Linked DNA regions of Homo sapiens: region 1 is linked to region 2. Evidence: promoter capture Hi-C in 16 types of primary human blood cells and fetal thymus (Javierre and others, 2016). All regions are on one chromosome and are shown on one strand. The core of a region is centred on a gene start or on the middle of the fragment in contact, and the rest is flanking DNA. Distances in the headings are between cores, read along the strand shown. Region 1 overlaps FXR2 (FMR1 autosomal homolog 2). Region 2 holds the start of DLG4 (discs large MAGUK scaffold protein 4).

Evidence for each region. The method cuts DNA at HindIII sites, captures the fragments that hold promoters and counts their contacts. A CHiCAGO score of 5 or more calls a contact.
Region 1: a fragment that was not itself captured here is called in contact with the fragment with the promoter of DLG4 in region 2 in 2 of 17 cell types (monocytes and naive CD4 T cells); the score reaches 6.4 in monocytes.

What each region holds. Positions count from the first base shown.
Region 1 is chr17:7,603,735-7,608,147 of GRCh38, reverse strand. It overlaps FXR2 (FMR1 autosomal homolog 2), which reads left to right. Exons shown (of 17, transcript NM_004860.4): 2 at 1,999-2,051; 3 at 2,410-2,503; 4 at 4,068-4,139; 5 at 4,243-4,391. Among named protein-coding and RNA genes, the nearest start is that of FXR2, 9.0 kb to the left of the region's middle. The HindIII fragment of the contact is 4,908 bases long and covers 1-3,846 here.
Region 2 is chr17:7,215,001-7,218,931 of GRCh38, reverse strand. DLG4 (discs large MAGUK scaffold protein 4) reads left to right here and starts at 1,305. Exons shown (of 20, transcript NM_001321075.3): 1 at 1,305-1,814. The coding sequence starts at 1,785. It also overlaps a transcript of ACADVL not described here. RefSeq lists an enhancer at 2,975-3,931. The HindIII fragment of the contact is 10,481 bases long and covers 1-3,931 here.

The DNA.
Region 1 (4,413 bases), core at 143-2,642, 390 kb before region 2:
CCTGTCTCTATTAAAAAAAAATTTTAATTTAAAAATATATTAAAAATAAAAAAAAGTGGCCTGGTGCGATGGTTCATACCTGTAATCCCAGCACTTTGGGAGGCTGAGGCGGGTGGATCACCAGAGGTCGGGAGTTTGAGACCAGTCTGACGAACATGGAGAAACCCTGTCTCTCTTAAAAATACAGAATTAGCCAGGGTCGTGGCCCATGCCTGTAATCCCAGCTACTTGGGAGGCTGAGGCAGAATTGCTTGAACCTGGGAGGCGGAGGTTGCGGTGAGCCAAGGTTGCACCATTGCACTCCAGCGTGGGCAACAAGAGCGAAACTCTGTCTCAAAAAAATAAATAAGAATTTAAAAATTTAAAAAACATTGATCAATACCTCACCTTATATATAAAATTTAATTCAAAATGGATCATAGGCTGGGCACAGTGGCTCACATCTTTAATTCCAGCTTTGGGAGGCTGAGGCAGATGGATCACCTGAGGTCAGGAGTTCGAGACCAACCTGGCCAAGATGGTGAAACCCCGTCTCTACTAAAAATATAAAAAATTAGCCTGGTGTGGTGGCGGTTGCCTGTAATCTCAGCTACTCGTGAGGCTGAGGCAGGAGAATTGCTTGAACCCGGGGGGTGGAGGTTGCAGTGGGCCAAGATTGCGCCATTACACTCCAGCCTGGGTGACAGAGTGAGACTCTGTCTAAAAATAAAGGATTATAGATGTAAATGTAAAACAAAAAACTAAAAGTTTAAGAAGAAGACATAAGAGAAAACCTTTGTGGCCTTGGATTAGGCAAAGATTTCTTTTTCTTTTTCTTTTTTTTTTTTTTGAGATGGAGTTTTGCTCTTGTTGCCCAGGCTGGAGTGCAATGGCATGATCTTGGCTCACTGCAACCTCTGACTCTCAGGTTCAAGTGATTCTCTTTCCTCAGCCTCCCAAATAGCTGGGATTACAGACATGCACCACCACACCTGGCTAATTTTTGTATTTTTAGTAGAGACGGGGTTTCACCATGTTGGCAGGCTGGTCTCGAACTCCTGACCTCAGGTGATCTGCCTGCCTCGTCCTCCCAAAGTGCTGGGATTATAGGCGTGAGCCACTGTGCCTGGCCTGGGCAAAGATTTCTTAGATATGAAACCAAAAGCACAGTTGATAAAATAATAAATTCATAAGCTAGACCTTTTTCAAAATTAGAAATCCCTAATTGTATGTGAAAAATAGGGAGAAGGTAGAAAAATTGGGAGCATAGGGGTGAATGCATGGCTTTGGCCTCCTTAGTGAGGACACAGACCACAGGAGGTGGATCAGCTGTTCAGTCATCCCTCTTGCTCTTGTCAAAATATCAAGATTGGAGTCTTCCATAAATTTTATTATCCTTTATAAATTATCAGTGTCATTCTAGATTCAATTCTAGTATTAAAAAACCGATGTTTTTAAATTAAGTCTTAATTTTTCCTTCTGTAAATTGTGTTCATCACAATTTTGAACTTGTCTAGTGTTCCGATTATTGTCTTAGGACCCATGCATCAGGGCAGCGAGTCTGCTCAGATCTCTTGCTGTATTGCGGAGGTAGGCCCTTCTCTCTCGACAGATCCTCATGTCCTCTAGGTGTTCCAGGACAGCCTCACACTGTCTCATGGGATATTCTTAGCCTTGCTGAATGTTGTTGGTATTTTAATTGAACTCTGGCAGGCTGCTTAGCACAACAGGAGGCAGACAGATAGGGAGGCCCCTGTGGGAGCCTGAGTAGATCATTGGTTTCCAGGCTGTTCTGATGCAGGTGGTACATACACCTCTCCATGACAATATCATTTCCTTTCTCTGTTTGACTGCCCATATTCTTTCCCCAGTGCAGCCTTTCAGGCTGTCTCATTACACCACTTGTGTCCCTATCTAAAACTCAAGTTTAAGGTTTTGTGGTGTCTTATTCCCTTGATGGCTAAGGTGGAAGTAAAAGGTCATTTTATTTTTTTTGCTTTTTTCTAAAATCCATTCTAGGGCTTTGTGAAGGATGTCCATGAAGACTCTGTCACCATCTTCTTTGAAAACAAGTAAGACCTTGGGAATAGAGAATCCAGCATACTAGGTCCTAGAAGGAGAGTGGAGAAGAGGGGGCAGCTGAGTCCTATGAGGCATGTAATAGGTTGGGAGAGCTGAGGGTTTGGGTGGGAACTCATATGGATCCCAGGAGAGGAAAGGGCTGAGAATTTGGTGAGGGTGGGGGCATTTGACCCAGTATTTAGAGTCTAGAAAGAGATGGAAGACACTACTATGGAGCAGGGCCTGGGGTTTAGCCTCTAATTATCCAGATAGGTGGAACTCGCCCAGCTGAGGCAATAACCCTTTTGTAAAGAAATGGGCAACCATATCAGTCAGAGTAGCTTTTTCATATTATTGTTTCTATTATAGCTGGCAGAGTGAGAGACAAATTCCTTTTGGGGATGTCCGGCTACCACCTCCAGCTGACTATAATAAGGAGATCACAGAAGGGGATGAAGTGGAGGTAAGGGCTGTGGAGTACACCTTTCTAAATGTCACTTTTCCCCAGGATTCTAGGCTTTTCTCTGGTTGGTTCATGTTCCTTCCTCCCCAACTAAGCCATATCCAGCCATGTAGCCTATGGAAATGTAAAATGCAACAGTTCCCCTTTTATCACTGTTGTGATCAGCCAAACTCTCAGGAACATCCCCAGTTTCAGGCGATTTGCCTTCCATTTATGGTAACAACATCTAAAATCCAGTGCCCTCTGATTTTTTTGTTGTTGTTGTTGTTGTTGTTTTGAGATGGAGTCTTGCTCTGTTGCCCAGGCTGGAGTGCAGTGGCGCGATCTCAGCTAACTGCAACCTCCGCCTCTTGGGTTCAAGCAATTCTTCCACCTCAGCCTCCCAAGTAGCTGGGATTACAAGCACCTGCCATCATGCTCGGGTAATTTTTGCATTTTTGTAAAGACATGGTTTCACCATGTTGGCCAGGCTAGTCTTGAATTTCTGACTTCAGGTGATCCACCCGCCTCAGCTTCCCAAAGTGCTGGGATTACAGGCATGAGCCACCATGCCCTGCCGTCCTCTGATTTTAATTAGTTCCTTCCTCTGGTTTCTTGTATCCTTGGTTTAAGATACATCCCAGGCTGGATGCAGTGGCTCACACCTGAAATCCCAGCACTTTGAGAGGTCGAGTGGGGCAGATCACCTGAGGTCAGGAGTTCAAGACCAGCCTGGCCAACATGATGAAACCCCATCTCTACTAAAAATACAAAAAATTAGCTGGGCGTGGTGGCGGGCGCCTATAATCCCAGCTACTTGGGAGGCTGAGGCAGGAGAATCGCTTGAACCCAGGAAGTGGAGGTTGCAGTGAGCTGAGATTGTGCCATTGCACTCCAGCCTGAGCACCAAGAGCGAAACTCTGTCTCAAAAAAAAAAAAAAAAAGATGCATCCCAAATACCTTTTTTTTCTTTTTGAGATGAAGTCTCACTCTGTTGCCCAAGCTGGAGTGCAGTGGCGCGGTCTCAGCTCACTGCAACCTCCACCTCCTGGTTCAAGTGATTCTCCTGCCTCAGCCTCCTGTGTAGCTTGGAGTACAGGCATGTGGCACCACACCCGGCTAATTTTTGTATTTTTAGTAGAGGTGGGGTTTTACCATGTTGGCCAGGCTGGTCTTGAACTCCTGACTTCAGGTGATCAGCCCACCTCAGCCAAAGTCCTGGGATTATGGGCATAAGCCACCGCGCTTGGCCTCTTTTTTTTTCGTGGAAGTGGGGTCTCACTGTGTTGCCCAGATCGTTCTTGAACTCCTGAGCTCAAGAGATCCTCCCACCTTGGCCTTCCAAAGTGCTGGGATTATAAGCTTGAGCCACTGTGCCCAGCAGCCCCAAATATCTTAATGGTTGTTCTATTGTTTATGTTGCCCAAGCTGGTCTTGAACTCCTGGGCATAAGCAGTCCTTTTGCCTCAGCCTCCCAAAGCGCTGAGATTACAGGTGTGAGCCCCACCATGCCCGGCCTCCTCATCCCTTTCTTGATGCTTTTGGGTGGTCTTCAATATCTCTTTGATTCTCTACTTTTCTTTAGGTTTATTCTCGAGCCAATGAACAGGAACCTTGTGGCTGGTGGCTGGCCCGGGTGCGGATGATGAAGGGAGATGTGAGTGACTGGGAATGCCTTTGGAGAACTACTGAAACAAATATGTTATTCATAGAAAGTTGCTCAGGTCATCCACAACTTCTCCTTTTTTACCATGTGCCAGTTCTATGTCATTGAATATGCTGCCTGTGATGCCACCTACAATGAAATTGTTACCCTGGAGCGACTTCGGCCAGTTAATCCCAATCCCCTTGCAACCAAAGGCAGCTTCTTCAAGGTTACCATGGCTGTGCCCGAGGATCTGAGAGAAGCGTGAGTGTTAAGGATGGTGGGA
Region 2 (3,931 bases), core at 56-2,555:
CTCACAGCTGGAATTTAGTGGGGAGAAGCAGCTCAACTCCAATCCTGGAGGATTAGGGAGATTAAAGTGAGAGAAGAGAGAGATGTCCCAGAGACCAAGAGGTGAAAAACAGGGCTCCTTGTGGAGGGGAGGTCTGGGAGCGAAGTGGGGGGCTGGGGCTCGGAGATCCTTCTCCCCAAATCTTTCCGTAGGGGCTGGGGTGAAGGGCACAGTCTGGGGAGATGAAGTGACAGTGTGTTCATCTTCCTGTGTTGGCATCTTCCCTGTCCCAATTCTCCTTGCATCTCACTAGCTCCCAGGTCAGCCCTCTGGCTCCTGGCACCCCCACTGCTGCGGTGGGCACCCCCACTCCTCACAGTGCTGCATAGCGACCTCTTCCAGGCCTTGCTGGGTGAGTAGCCCGTTTTCTGAGGGACCTGGGCCTCCAAGGGCCATTACTGAACTTCGGGGGCTGTTTGGGAGCCCAGAGATCATTTGGTCCAAGCTGGAGCACCATGCAGGGTCCTGCCTATGGTGTCCTCCATGAGTGTGGACCAGCCTTGGCTGAAAGGGCTCCTCCCTTGCCAGCCAGCCAGCAGCGGTGATGACAGGGGTGATGTGCCTGGAGAGGCCTGGGGTGGGGAGGTAACTCAGTTCTGTTCCTGTGACAGACATCCTGGACTATTATGAGGCTTCCCTCTCAGAGAGTCAGGTAAGGAGGTGGGGGCGAGCGCCTAACTTCCTGAGGGGCAGGCAGGGCTGGAGGGGTGAGCCAAATATCACTAATATTACCTGGAATCTTGGGGGCCCTGCTGACAAAAGCCTGAGTCAGTGGCCCAGGGACTTGGGGCACCGAGAATGCACTCTCTGTGGTCCTGTACCCACTCTCCCTTTCTTCCTCGTTTTCTTTGGCTGCCCCAGTTTCAGGCACTAAAGAGTCTAGGGCTTAACTTTTTAGGTTTCCCCCTGAGAAACCTGAGGGAGAACTAGGCCCCCAGGGATTGCCTCCTTCAGCTCCTCCCTCACACCCGACCCCCTACCGCCTGCCGAGAGGCCTCCCTCCCGTATTCAAATAACCGTGGGTGCTCCCAGCCCAACTATAGATGCTTCCTTCTCTAAGAAATGAAATCCAGCCTCATCGTCTTTGCTGTCATCGCTGGTGGCTGGCCAGGTCTCCATGTTTGCCTCAGGGGCCTCTGTGCTTCTGCTTCTATCTCCTTTCCCATTATCCGGGTTCCTGCCAGCACAGAAGGAGTTAACTCTGCCAAGGCACCCCCCCCATTCTGGCTCCTAGCTCCCTCCCTCCCTCCCCCTGCTTCCTCTCTCCTCCTCTCTCCCCTTCCCTCTTCGGCTCCACGGCTCCCTCGGCCGCTGCCGTTTCCAACCCCCCCACCCCACTCCCCCGCCACGGCCCCTAGCCCCTGGCCGTTTGGCAAGACCCCCCCCTACCCCGGGGCTCCCCGAAATCCAGTTCCCCTCCCCCACCCCAGCTCATGCCCCAGCCCCCGAACTCCGGGGCTGCCAGCCCCCGGTGCCCCCGCCCCTCCTGAGAATCGGGGTGTGCTCCCCAAGCCCCCTCCCCTCCACTGGGGAGCCCCTTTTAGGGCCCCCTTCCCCTCCCTCCCACGCTCCCCTCCCCTTCCCTTCTCCAACCCCCTCCTTCCCCTCTCACCCCTCCCCCCATCCTGGCCCCCCCTGCAAAAGTGGGGTGCGGAGGGGGGAGGGGTGAGAACCCACGGAGGGGAGGAACGAAACTCCGATGAAGTCAGAGCCCCTTACCCGCCGCCGCGGCCAGGCCCCCCAACATGGACTGTCTCTGTATAGTGACAACCAAGGTAAGCATGATGGGGGGGCTATAAACTGGGGGGAGGGTATGAGTTTGTGGGGAGGGGTTAGTAGGCCTTATCTGGGACTGGCGCCCCTGGAGTGGCAGCATCAGAAGTAAGATGTATTTGGGGGTCTTAATTTAGTTTTGGGGTTCACATCTGAGAAAATGCAGGATTTGGCCACAGGTGCCCCCTGGAGTGATCCCTTTGTACCTGTAGGGATATGGAAAATTTAGGATATTCCATGGTTCGGGGGGCCTGGCGGGTTTGGGGGTTCATCAGCGCTGTTTGAGGGAGACTTATTTAAGGAGAAGCCTGGCTCATAAGGGAGTCCTGCTGGTGTATGTGGGAAGGTGGGCTATGTTGGGGGGTTCCTCTTTCCTCCCCAGGGAAAAGCTGGCTTCCAAGGGCCTTGTCCAGTTTTGGGGGGCTCCTGGCATGGGGTAAAGGTTATTGGTTGTGAGTGCCTGACTGATCTGGGGGTGTCAGCTGGCAGGGAAGGGGTGGGCCTTCAGACTCTAGAACAAGCATCTCGTGGTGGCTGCATTTAGGGATGCTCTCTCAATTTGAGGGAACTGTTAATTTAGGGTTCAGTCATATAGAATGGAGGTAGTTGGAAGTTGTCAGAGGGCTGGGGCCCTGGCATGGGATCACCTGAGGGAATGGACCAGGTGAGGCAAGGATTTGGGGGTACTCCCATAGGAGGCAGAAGATTGCAGCAGCCGAGCTTGCCAGCCCCTGAGGAGGAGGATGAGAGGCTTAGGGAGAGAGGGGATTTGAGGAGGGGGACCGGGTGGGTGGTGCACAATTTGGGGGTGGCCCAAAGGCAGGTGCCCAATATCCCCATCTCCTCCCACACTGTATCTAGCCCTGATCAAGAGAGAGGGAGAAGAGCAGATGTGGGGACTGTTCCAGATACCCCTGACGCTTGGGATCAAGGTGGGGGAGGACACCTGGATTTAAGGGTCCCTGAGGGCTTATGACCGAAGTTACTGAGGTTACTGGGGTGAAAAGGTGTAGGAGGAGGGCAGGGCTGGCAGCGATGGGGATCTGTGCAAGAGTGTCCCTCTGGTTGGAGCCTGGCAAAGGCAGGAGATCTCGGATGGAGCACAGGCGAGCTCCTGGTGGGATGCAGATACCTAGGCTCTCCTTGGAGACTCTGGGACTGGAGAGCTGGATGCCTGGTGTGTGGAGGGAGGCTTGGGCGGGTGGCAGGCAGCTGGGGGCTGGGGGGTGGGACAGGAAGTGGGGGCCGGGGGAGGCGGGGTCCGGGTGAGTCACAGGCTGGGGAGGGGGTTATATTTAGTGGGAACTGCAGCTTTTCATGGGAGGGAGCTGAGGACACACATGTTCCCTGCCACAAACTCACACATGTGTGTACACATGCATTGTGCACGTGTGAGGATGGTTGGAAGAGATTGGGGGCTGAGGACCTTTAGATCTGGAGCCCCCACCCTCTCTCCACCAGGGCGACTTTCTTGTCCTTCATTCTGTGGGTTTCGGGCTTTCTCCCAGGCTGCCTCTTCCCCACATCCCCTGTAGTTTCGGTGGATTTTTATGCCTCAGTTTCTCTGGCCTGGTTTCCTCTGCTCCCGCTGTCTCCTGCCCTTAGGCCTGTCACTTGGCCTTAGGCTCCATGGCTGTGGTCCCCTGCATTCCAGGTGTAAATAGAAAGCCCGCTGGAATGTGTGGGCTCTGCTTCCAACACGTGAACACACAAATGGGAGCGAGGGTGAGGGGCTTGCCAGCAGGCAGCTATTCTGGGTGGGTGGGTGGCCTTATTCATTACCCACTCCAGACTCCTACTTCTTCCATGGAGCCCAGGGTTGAGCATCCCTGAAGGAAGGAGGCTTACAGAGCAGATCATGCATTTGGGGTTTACAGAGGCGTGGAGACCCAGGCTTGCCACATTCCTTGGCTGGAAAACTTGTCAGCCTCGGTATGGTGGGGACTCCAACTCCCATAAGGCCCCGAGGCACCAGATCCCTCAATGTTAGAGGGTTGCTGCCCATGGCGCTGTTGGGAGTTGTGGTTCATCTCTATCCAGGGCAGCCAGCGGAGGGTAGCCCAAGAGGAGCCTGCAGGGGGCACATGGCTCCTGCTTCCCCAAATGCTGGATGGGGTAG